Linked DNA regions of Homo sapiens: region 1 is linked to region 2. The links are contacts of gene promoters, found by promoter capture Hi-C in blood cells and fetal thymus (Javierre and others, 2016). All regions are on one chromosome and are shown on one strand. Each heading gives the region's core, a stretch centred on a gene start or on the middle of the fragment in contact. The rest is flanking DNA. Distances are from core to core; before and after follow the strand shown. Region 1 overlaps LRRC27 (leucine rich repeat containing 27). Region 2 holds the start of TUBGCP2 (tubulin gamma complex component 2).

The links. The method cuts DNA at HindIII sites, captures the fragments that hold promoters and counts their contacts. A CHiCAGO score of 5 or more calls a contact.
Region 1: a fragment that was not itself captured here is called in contact with the fragment with the promoter of TUBGCP2 in region 2 in 1 of 17 cell types (monocytes); the score reaches 6.1 in monocytes.

Annotation. Positions count from the first base shown.
Region 1 is chr10:132,335,520-132,339,814 of GRCh38, reverse strand. It overlaps LRRC27 (leucine rich repeat containing 27), which reads right to left. Exons shown (of 11, transcript NM_030626.3): 3 at 2,120-2,250. Among named protein-coding and RNA genes, the nearest start is that of LRRC27, 5.5 kb to the right of the region's middle. RefSeq lists a silencer at 224-378 and an enhancer at 4,032-4,091. The HindIII fragment of the contact is 6,013 bases long and covers 1-4,295 here.
Region 2 is chr10:133,305,817-133,310,380 of GRCh38, reverse strand. It overlaps TUBGCP2 (tubulin gamma complex component 2), which reads left to right and starts at 1,509. Exons shown (of 18, transcript NM_006659.4): 1 at 1,509-1,558. It overlaps ZNF511-PRAP1 (ZNF511-PRAP1 readthrough), which reads right to left and starts at 1,467. Exons shown (of 9, transcript NM_001396060.1): 1 at 1,285-1,467; 2 at 918-991; 3 at 404-605; 4 at 93-217. The coding sequence starts at 1,437. It overlaps ZNF511 (zinc finger protein 511), which reads right to left and starts at 1,467. Exons shown (of 6, transcript NM_145806.4): 1 at 1,285-1,467; 2 at 918-991; 3 at 404-605; 4 at 93-217. The coding sequence starts at 1,437. RefSeq lists enhancers at 982-1,276, 684-1,379, 2,103-2,332 and a silencer at 1,023-1,872. The HindIII fragment of the contact is 14,798 bases long and covers 1-4,431 here.

The sequences.
Region 1 (4,295 bases), core at 1,360-3,859, 970 kb after region 2:
GTAGTTATGGGAACAGGTCTTAGTTCATTTACATCCTCTGAGTAGCACTTACTCTCCAGAACTGTGTAAGGCTAAAACAATTTGTGGACAAAAGAGCACCCAGTGATTCTAAACCCAGAAGATGATGATCGTGTGAAGAAGAAATCCTTCCCAAAGCACTCTCAGCCTCAGGCTTGGAAGCCTCCCGAGGCCGTGAGGACAGGGTGGACAACTGCCCAGAGAGCACCTGGCTCCCATGCAGCTCCCAAAACACAAGCGGCTGGCCGGGCTCGGCAGATGTACCAGCTGAGCCCCGGAACACTCTTCTCCTCCAGGTCCGTCTGTGGTCCGCCCTGCAGACCCCAGAGTCCCTAGGAGCCCCATGGAGATGCACCGGGTGTGTTTCCACCTGCTCCGGACACCACCTATCATTAGATAAGCAGCTTCCTCGCAGAGCCTGAAGGGTGAGTGATGCATGGTTCCCTCCCATTACCTGTGGCAAAATACACTGACTTCTTATAAAACATTTTTAAAACCAGTGAGTTCAAGGCAAGTGAAGGGCCTCCTACAAGCCTCTATTCTACTGTCCCACGGAGGCCACCATGGCTCTTGGGAGACACCATTCCTCACGTAGGAACTGGGGGCACCCTGGATACCCCTCTTCTTCTTGTGGCCCCACACCCACCCGCATCCCACCAGCTCTGAAGTCCCACCCAGGCCCTGCCGTGGCCAGCCACGCCCAGGCTGCCCCTCCTGCATGGGCTGCTGCCGTGGCCCCAGCTGATATGGGGCCTTCATATCAGCACTTGTCAAAAGAGGTTCAGGTAGCCGGGCGCGGGGGCTCATGCCTGTCATCCCAGCACTTTGGGAGGCCAAGGCAGGCAGATCACTTGAGGTCAGGACTTTGAGACCAGCCTGTCCAACATGGCAAAACCCCGTTTCTACTAAAAATGCAAAAATTAGCCGGGCATGGTGGCGGGCACCTGTAATTCCAGTTCCTTGGGAGGCTGAGGCAAGAGGATCGCTTGAAACCAGGAGGTAGAGGTTGCAGTGAGCCGAGATCACGCCACTGCACTCCAGCCTGGGAGACAGAGCAAGATTCCGTCTCAAAAAAAAAAAAAAAAAGAAAGAAAGAAAAGAAAAAGAGTTAAGGGCAATCATGGCTTCAGAAGGTGAAAAAGCCATGGCGCCGGGGATGTGGGCACAGAAGCAGAGAGCTCAGGAAAGGAGGACGTCTCCATAGTGAGAGTAGAGTCCTGGCTGCTGGGGAAGGGCCAGGCTGAGGAGGGGAAAGGAGGTGTGACGTTTCCACCATGGGCAGGATTACACCCCACAAGTGGGAATGCAAGGAAACTCCTGGAAGGGAAGTGGTGGAAATGGACAGGACACCTGGAGCTTGGTTGGGTGCTCCCAGTTTTCCAAAGTGAGAAGAATTTCTCACTATTTGCCAAGAACCAATGTGGGTTACCCAGGAGCCCTCAGGAGCAAAGGAGCTGGTTTATTTTTTATTTATTTTTTTTGAGACGGACTCTTACTCTGTCACCCAGACTGGAGTGCAGTGGTGTGATCTCAGCTCACTGCAACCTCTGCCTCCTGGGGTCAAGCAATTCTCCTGCCTCAACCTCCTGAGGAGCTGGGATTACAGGCACCCACCACCACGCCTGGCAAATTTTTGTATTTTTATTAGAGATAGGGTTTTGCCATGTTGGCCAGGCTGGTCTCAAACTCCTGACCTCAGGTGATCTGCCCACCTCGGCCTCCCAAAGTTCTGGGATTACACGCGTGAGCCACCGCGCCTGGCCAAAGTTGCTGGTTTAACTCATCAGAGGTATTTCTGATTTTCAGACAGCTTCACACAAGGAGAGTCAGAGCTGGAATCGGCTGTGACAAAAATCACACTGGCTGCCCAGCAAAAAGACACTGTGGCTACAGCATTCTCTGTGGCACCAAATATCCCAAGTTATAGTTCTGTGTTGGGTACATTCAGCCGTCGCAACCTCTTAGCTGGCTTTAAAAATACTATTAAATGTTTCTATTCCGAGGTAAAAATTTAATCAAGAGTAAAGGACAAGGAGCGAAAGAACAGGCACTCGTGCACTGAAAAGATGATTTTTAAAATCTGGAAACATAAACAACTTACTGGTGAGCTCCAATCCCAGAAGGAAGCGCTTTAATTCTATTGTACCGGAGGTCCAGCCAAGTCAGGTTCGGAAGCAACTGAAAGAAATCTTGAGGAATCACACACAGGGCATTCCTTTGCAGATGCAATTGCTTCCATGGAAAAGAGAATCAGAGAATGTTTTGTTAACCAACTAATTTGTAAAACATGATATATCCAAAATCTATTTCCAAAAGAACTACTAACAACCAGAACCGTATATACTAAGTTAAAAAACAAAAACCCAATCTCTTACCCTTAAAAGATGTAAACAGTAGACAAAAGAATCAGAAAGAAAAGAACCAGGACTCCTTCCGGCGGCCTTTGGAGCCGGAACTGACTTCCTGAAGAGCCGGCACTCTGCTGCTGACCCAGCACACCACTGTTTCTATCCCAAAGCCTTTGACATGGTCTGAATTCCGGGGCCCCACACTCAGTGTCTCGGCCGTTTCTCCAGTGCCTGCCGCAGCACCTGGCCCTCGGCAGCCCCCGAAATCGCCTGCTTACTGAGCAAATAGCCAGAGCCATGTCTGGTCTGGGGGACTCAGCCCAACTCAATCATTAAAATGAAACTAAAAGACAGGGACAGAGATGTCTGCCGTGGTGTTCTCTACGATCAGCAGCAAACAAAGCCTCAGCGAGCAGCATTTCAGAAGCAGATTGACACATCAACTCGGTGGCGTTGTAAAGTCGTGACAAATAAGGGAAGGTGGAAGATGAACGTATACACGCTGATTTTAGCTGTGTAAAATGCATATAACATTCACACAATTTTACAGTCACAGTGTGGAAGGATCATAGCTAATTTTTACAATACTGTCATTAATGCTGCTAGTTGTTTATACTCACATTATTATATGTATTTATATCCATATCTGTATTTCCTGAGGGAGTAGAAACAGATGTTCGGAACAATGATCTCAAAGCCAGACTGCCTGGATCCACATCTAGGTTTCAAAATCTATTGGCTGTGTGACCTTGAGCAAGTTCCTGAACCTCTCTGTGCTCCAGTGTCCTCATCTGTGAGACGGGGCAATGTGGGCAAGCACTAAAGAACAGTGCGTGGATTGGCTGTTGTGATTACGTTGCCTTCTCTATGAAACACACACTGCACATTGCACAGAGCACCACATGCCTCCCCATTCCGCCCTCAACACCGTGTCCCTGATCCAAATCACTGACAGATTCCAACTGGAGAAACACTGACTGGAAAAATCACACTCTTCAGAAAGGCACTGGAAACACTATCTTATCTCTGTTAGGAAATTGCCCGAGTCACTGCTTGCTGGCAGCTGGCTCGGTCTCCAGAAAGCATCCTGGCAATCACAGGTCACAGTGTGTGCCCCCACGTATATGGGTGTGCACCCCCCACATACAGGCATGTGCATGCCTCCACGTGCTGCCTTTCTCGGGCCTCTGCAGGAGTGGTTTTACACTTCTTGGTCCTGTTCTTCCCCCCCCAGGGCAAGCTGATTCCAGTGCTCAGCTTTGAAACCATGTCGTTCTCAATGCCAGTAAAAGGAATCTCAGAAAGATAACACTCTTCTTCCTCCCCAGCACCTCTGGAAATGCAGGCACCACCTGTGACTTGGAGCTGGTTATGGTTGAAGGAAATAATATATACAGTGGTCCATTTCCAAGACAAAGTGCCTTGAATTGGCTTAGGTCAGCAAACTACAGAAAAACAGGATGTACTAGGCCCCTACTTGGATAGCCGATGCCTGCTTGTTGGCCATTCCCCACCCCTTAGTTGCCCTCACCCAAACCAAAGAAGATTAGTCTAAGATGAAAGTTTACTAGCCCGCAAAATAGCTCGTTTTGTCCGTTCTTATCAGCCTGCCCAGCTACTTAGGTCATAAATCAAATACTTGAAGAGCCCCTGAGCTGACTGGGATTGCAATGCATTGTGGGCCACGACAAAATAAAGCAGGACAACCCTAAAGAAAATACCTACAGCCCCTGCCCAACAACCAATAGGGAACGTCCAGGAAGACTGCGACCCTATAGTACTCTGCCTATGAGGAACCAGGGGAGGAACCTGCACCGTACAGCCCCTACCCAACAACCAATAGACGACATCCAGGAAGACTGTGACCCCCCCCATAGTACTCAGCCTATGAGGATCTGGGGGAGGGACCTGCGCCCTACAGCCCCTACC
Region 2 (4,564 bases), core at 260-2,759:
TTAATAAGTCTGACCGTCTATGCATTCCGGCTAGTTGGAAACCTTTTCCTAAAATCAAAAGCAGACACGTGCTGAGCCTGGCGGCTCCCTACCTTCTGCTTTTCTTTGGCTTATCAAACCGGAAGTCCGCGGGGTACAGGTGCATCCTCACCATGTGATCCTTCCGGTCTCTGCTGGTCTTGAACTTCTCTGTGCAGCCTTCTACCAAGCACTGATACTGAAATGGAGACCGTGTCACCTCCCTCTGACCCCTGGCCCTCCCCCACCGCCATGCCCCCGTAGCAGAGCTGCCAAGGGCGGAAAGGTGTCCCCGGCCTTGCCCGAGCACCCGAGAGCTGGGGGCAGCACTCTGAGCCCATCACCAATGGGGGGTGGCCTCGGCGGCTGTGCAGTTGTCACCCACCATGTCCTGCCTCTCAGACAGGATCTGGAAGAGCGAATCGTGCCACTCCAGGATGTGGGCGTCCAGCAGGTGTCCGGAAGGGAAGGCCCGCTTGCAAAAGGAGCAAACATTTCCGTGCAGCGTGTGGTAGTGGTGCTCGTAGTCGTCCAGGGCATCGAACACCTGGCAGCAGCCGGCCACCTGGCAGGCAAACGCGGGCACCCTGCCAAGGAGACGTGCTTCAGGAGCCCTTCCTCCGGTGCGAGGAACCAAGCTGGACTTTCTGCACAGTTTCCCTTTGAGACGTCCAATAAAGCCCCTATGCATCTTTTGCAATCCCAAACCCTCTTTTTATGAATTAAGTTTCACAAACAGGCTAGGTGGTGGAAGAGTCGGCCACGCCAAAGCTGGACAGGCACAGCGCCTCGGTGGGGCGGCCGCACATGGAAGAGCGGCAGCACAGCCCCAGGGACCAGGCACCGGTCAGGGAGGCGGCGCAGGAGTAGCACTGGCTAGGCACTGCCCATTCGCTTACCTGGGCTTCTCAGGCACGTCGGCCACCTGCATGATCACGTCCTGGAGGTAGAGGTGGCGCTGCACGTCCCCATCCTGCAGGAAAAGTGCGCCGTGGGCGGGGCCAGGTGACTCGCGGCACGCCCACCGCGTCAGGCCTCGCCCACACCCGTGGCCCCAGTCATCCCGCGCTCCGGTCCCGCCCCACAGCCTCAGGCCCCGCCCACTCCACGTTCCGGCCCCGCCCCACCACCTCAGGTCCCGCCTGTCCCAGGCTCCGGCCCCGCCCCGCAGTCGTAGGCCCCTCCCACTCCAGGCTCCGGCCCCGCCTCGCCGCCGTAGGCCCCACTGGATCCTACAACTACTTTTTCCCTCTTTTGCTCACGCACCTCGAAGAACTGGTGCTCCCGCGGGAAGCGCACGGGGCGCGCAACGAAGCGAAAGGGCGCGGCCCCAGCCGCGGGATCCCGCTCTACAGGCAGCGGCTCCGCCGCCCCGGGCCCCGCAGCGAGGCGGGCGCACAGCGCGGGGGGCAACTGCATCACCCCGGGCGCGGGCGGGCGCAGCCTGTCGGCCACCGTCCGCGAGCCGAGCCGGACGTGACGTCACGCTCACTTCCGCCGCCGTCGGGGGCTGCGCGGGGGCTGTGGCTCCGGGACTGCGGTGAGTCCTGGCCGAACGCGGGCGCGGGCGTGATGAGGGGGTTGGGGGACTGCCAGGCCCGGGGGGGCCCACGAGGCGACGGGGCTGGCGGGACGCGGCTCTTCCCGCGCGCTCCCTCTGGCTGTGCAGCGGTCCCCGAACTCTGGGGCCGAAGCCCTTCGGGCCTGCACCGGCCAGGCCAGCGTCTTGCCCCGCGGCCCGACACTCAGCCGGGGCGGGGCGGAGCGGGCCTCCGGGTCGTCCCGGGTGTCCCCTCCCAGCCCTGGGAAGCCGGGTCGCAGGTCCCCCTCTCGCACGCCCTCTCCCGTCCGCCTTGCCCCGCCTGTCGTCTCCCGCTGCAGTCCCTGGATCTTGTTCCCTCTAAACCAGTCGCGAACTGGAGCCAAAGTGACTCCAGTTTTATTGTAACCGTTTTTAATTTAAAGCCCTTGGGTGACTTCCCGTTACTTTAGTTCAAAGGCCCTTTCCTGGTTTGTCGGGGTCCTGTCGACCTCTCCAGTCCCCGCAGCTCCCGTGAAACACAGGACCTGTGCTAGGTGCTCAGGGCGTGTGGGGGAAGGCATCACAGGAGGGCGCGGCAGCCTTGTAGGAGAGACAGACGTCAGAGTAAAGAGTCACCTAATTAAAATGGTGAATGACAACACACGCGGGAAGCAGTGGACGCTTCAGATCTACTGCAGAGAATGGGCCCAGTGGCGGATAGAGGCTTTAGCTTTCTCGTCTGTCACCCAGGCTGGAGTGCAATGGTGCGATCATAGCTGATAGATCGCTGCGGCCTCAAATTCTTGGGCTCAAGTGGTCCTGCTGCCTCAGCGTTCCAAAGAGCTGTAACTGCAGGCGTGAGCCACCATGCCTGCCCCTGTACTTTTTCCATGTTTAGATACACAAATATCTCTGTGTTACAGTTGTCTAGTGTTCAGCACCGCCACCTGCTGGGCAGGTTTGTAGCCCACGAGCAAGAGGCTCCTCTAGGTGGTTTAGGTGCATTGTAGGCCGTACACCATCCAGGTCTGCGAGTGACTCTGATGATCGCACAGAAGGAAATCATGTAACCATACGTTTCTCTTTTTTTCTTTTGGAGATAGTGTCTCTCTCTGTCGCTCAGGCTGGAGTGCAGTGGCGCGATCTGGGCTCACTGCAACCTCTGCCTGCTGGGTTCAAGCGATTCTCGTGCCTCAGCTTCCCAAGTAGCTGGGATTACAAGTGTGCGCCACCAGGCTTGGCCAATTTTTGTATTTTTGGTAGAGACTGGTTTTCACCATGTTGGCCAGGCATTTCTCAGAATGTTGAGTGATGCATGACTGTACTTTCTGTCTCTGTAAAAGCCTTTGGGCTCTTGACATTTTCCACAAGTTGTAAAATAACATTTTTCAAACCAATTTGTACAGTTAGCTTTGAGCTCTCAACAGAGACTCTTTTTCACGTCCCTCTGTGTTTTAATCACTTGGAGTGTGTGCTCACTAGGAGTGTGTGCCCCGCTTGTCCGTGGTGGAGTGTGACATGCGTGCATTGCTTCCCTCAGCACGCGTCCCTGCGGTAGCTCACAGCCTCTGTGAGGAGGACGTCAGTCCCTCCCAGTCACAGTTGCTGGGCCTGTCAGTTTGTGTGATTAATAGTAAGAATTCAGGAGCATCAAGAAGGCCAAGTCAGCGGCCATGGCTAGACGTTCCTCCAAGAAGCAGCCACGGCTAGATGTTCCTCAGAGCTGTGTTTTCAGTGGGACGCTGTGCATTTCTGGCGGGACAGCTCTGTTGATGATTAGCATCCCCCGCCCTTGCCCTCTAAGTAGCGAGAGCACCCTTCCATGACCGTGACACCCCAGAGTTGCCCTAGGACTTTTCCAAAGGTCTTCTGGGGGGAGGGACTCTGTGCGAGTACGGGCTGCCCTCTTGGAGGCCCGGTCCCCACATTCAGGGAGAGCAGCAGGCTCCTCATGGGATGAACACTCATGACGTGCGGGCATCTGTGCTTCTATTTCTAGAAGAGATACGAAGTTTCCTGAAGGTAGTTTTTATTTTTTTTATTATTATTTTTTGAGACAGAGTCTCGCTCTGTTGCCCAGGCTGGAATGCAGTGGTGTGATCTTGGCTCACTGCAAGCTCCGCCTCTCGGGTTCATGCCATTCTCCTGCCCCAGCCTCTGGAGTATCTGCGACTACAAGCGCCCGCCACCACCCCCGGCTAATTTTTTTGTATTTTTAGTAGAGATGGGGTTTCACCATGTTAGCCAGGATGGTCTCGATCTCCTGACCTCATGATCCGCCCACCTTGGCTTCCCAAAGTGCTGAGATTACAGGCGTGAGCCACCGTGCCCAGCATGTAGTTTTTAAATAAATACTCAGATGATTTTTCTTCATAGGTAGCTTTCTCTCCTGACTTGTGTCTGGTGGGGGAGTGCTTTGTTTTGGTGGCAAATGGTTTTCTTGCCACCTAGCATGACCAAAGTGTTTCTCAGACCAGCAGTTATAGGACAACCTGCAGTCCTCGGGGAGCCGAGTAGAATGTGGGTGAAACAGGCCACCCTTGGATTTGAAGGGGCCGCTGGCCGGAAAGTTTGGGCTGTCTTTTCTGCTTCACAAGTAGTTTGCAGGGCCTCGTCCAGGGCTCCCATGACTGTTAAAAAAGCATCTGGTAGTTTAAGATGTTGTCAGTGATTGGGACCCAATTTTCCTTTTGTAAACCTAACCATTTCCCAGATAACAGAGTTAACACCTCCAGGGAGCAATGGTGCCGCATGTTTGTTTCTGCTTTCCTGGTAACAACAGTGTAAGAACTTACCACGTATGGGCCCTTCTGTGCTTTCTCAGGGTGATTTCACTTCTCTCTACCACAGCTCTACGCAGGACCTAGGGCTTCCCCTTTTCAGAAGAAGCTTGGAGAGGACGTGTCCTTGTTCAGGGTCCCACAGCCTAGAAGTAGCCACGTCAGTGTCCAGACTGCATGGGGCTCCATGGCGCGTGCCCTGCTGGCCTTGTGCTTGAACTGTAGTTACCGTGAGCACCTCCTG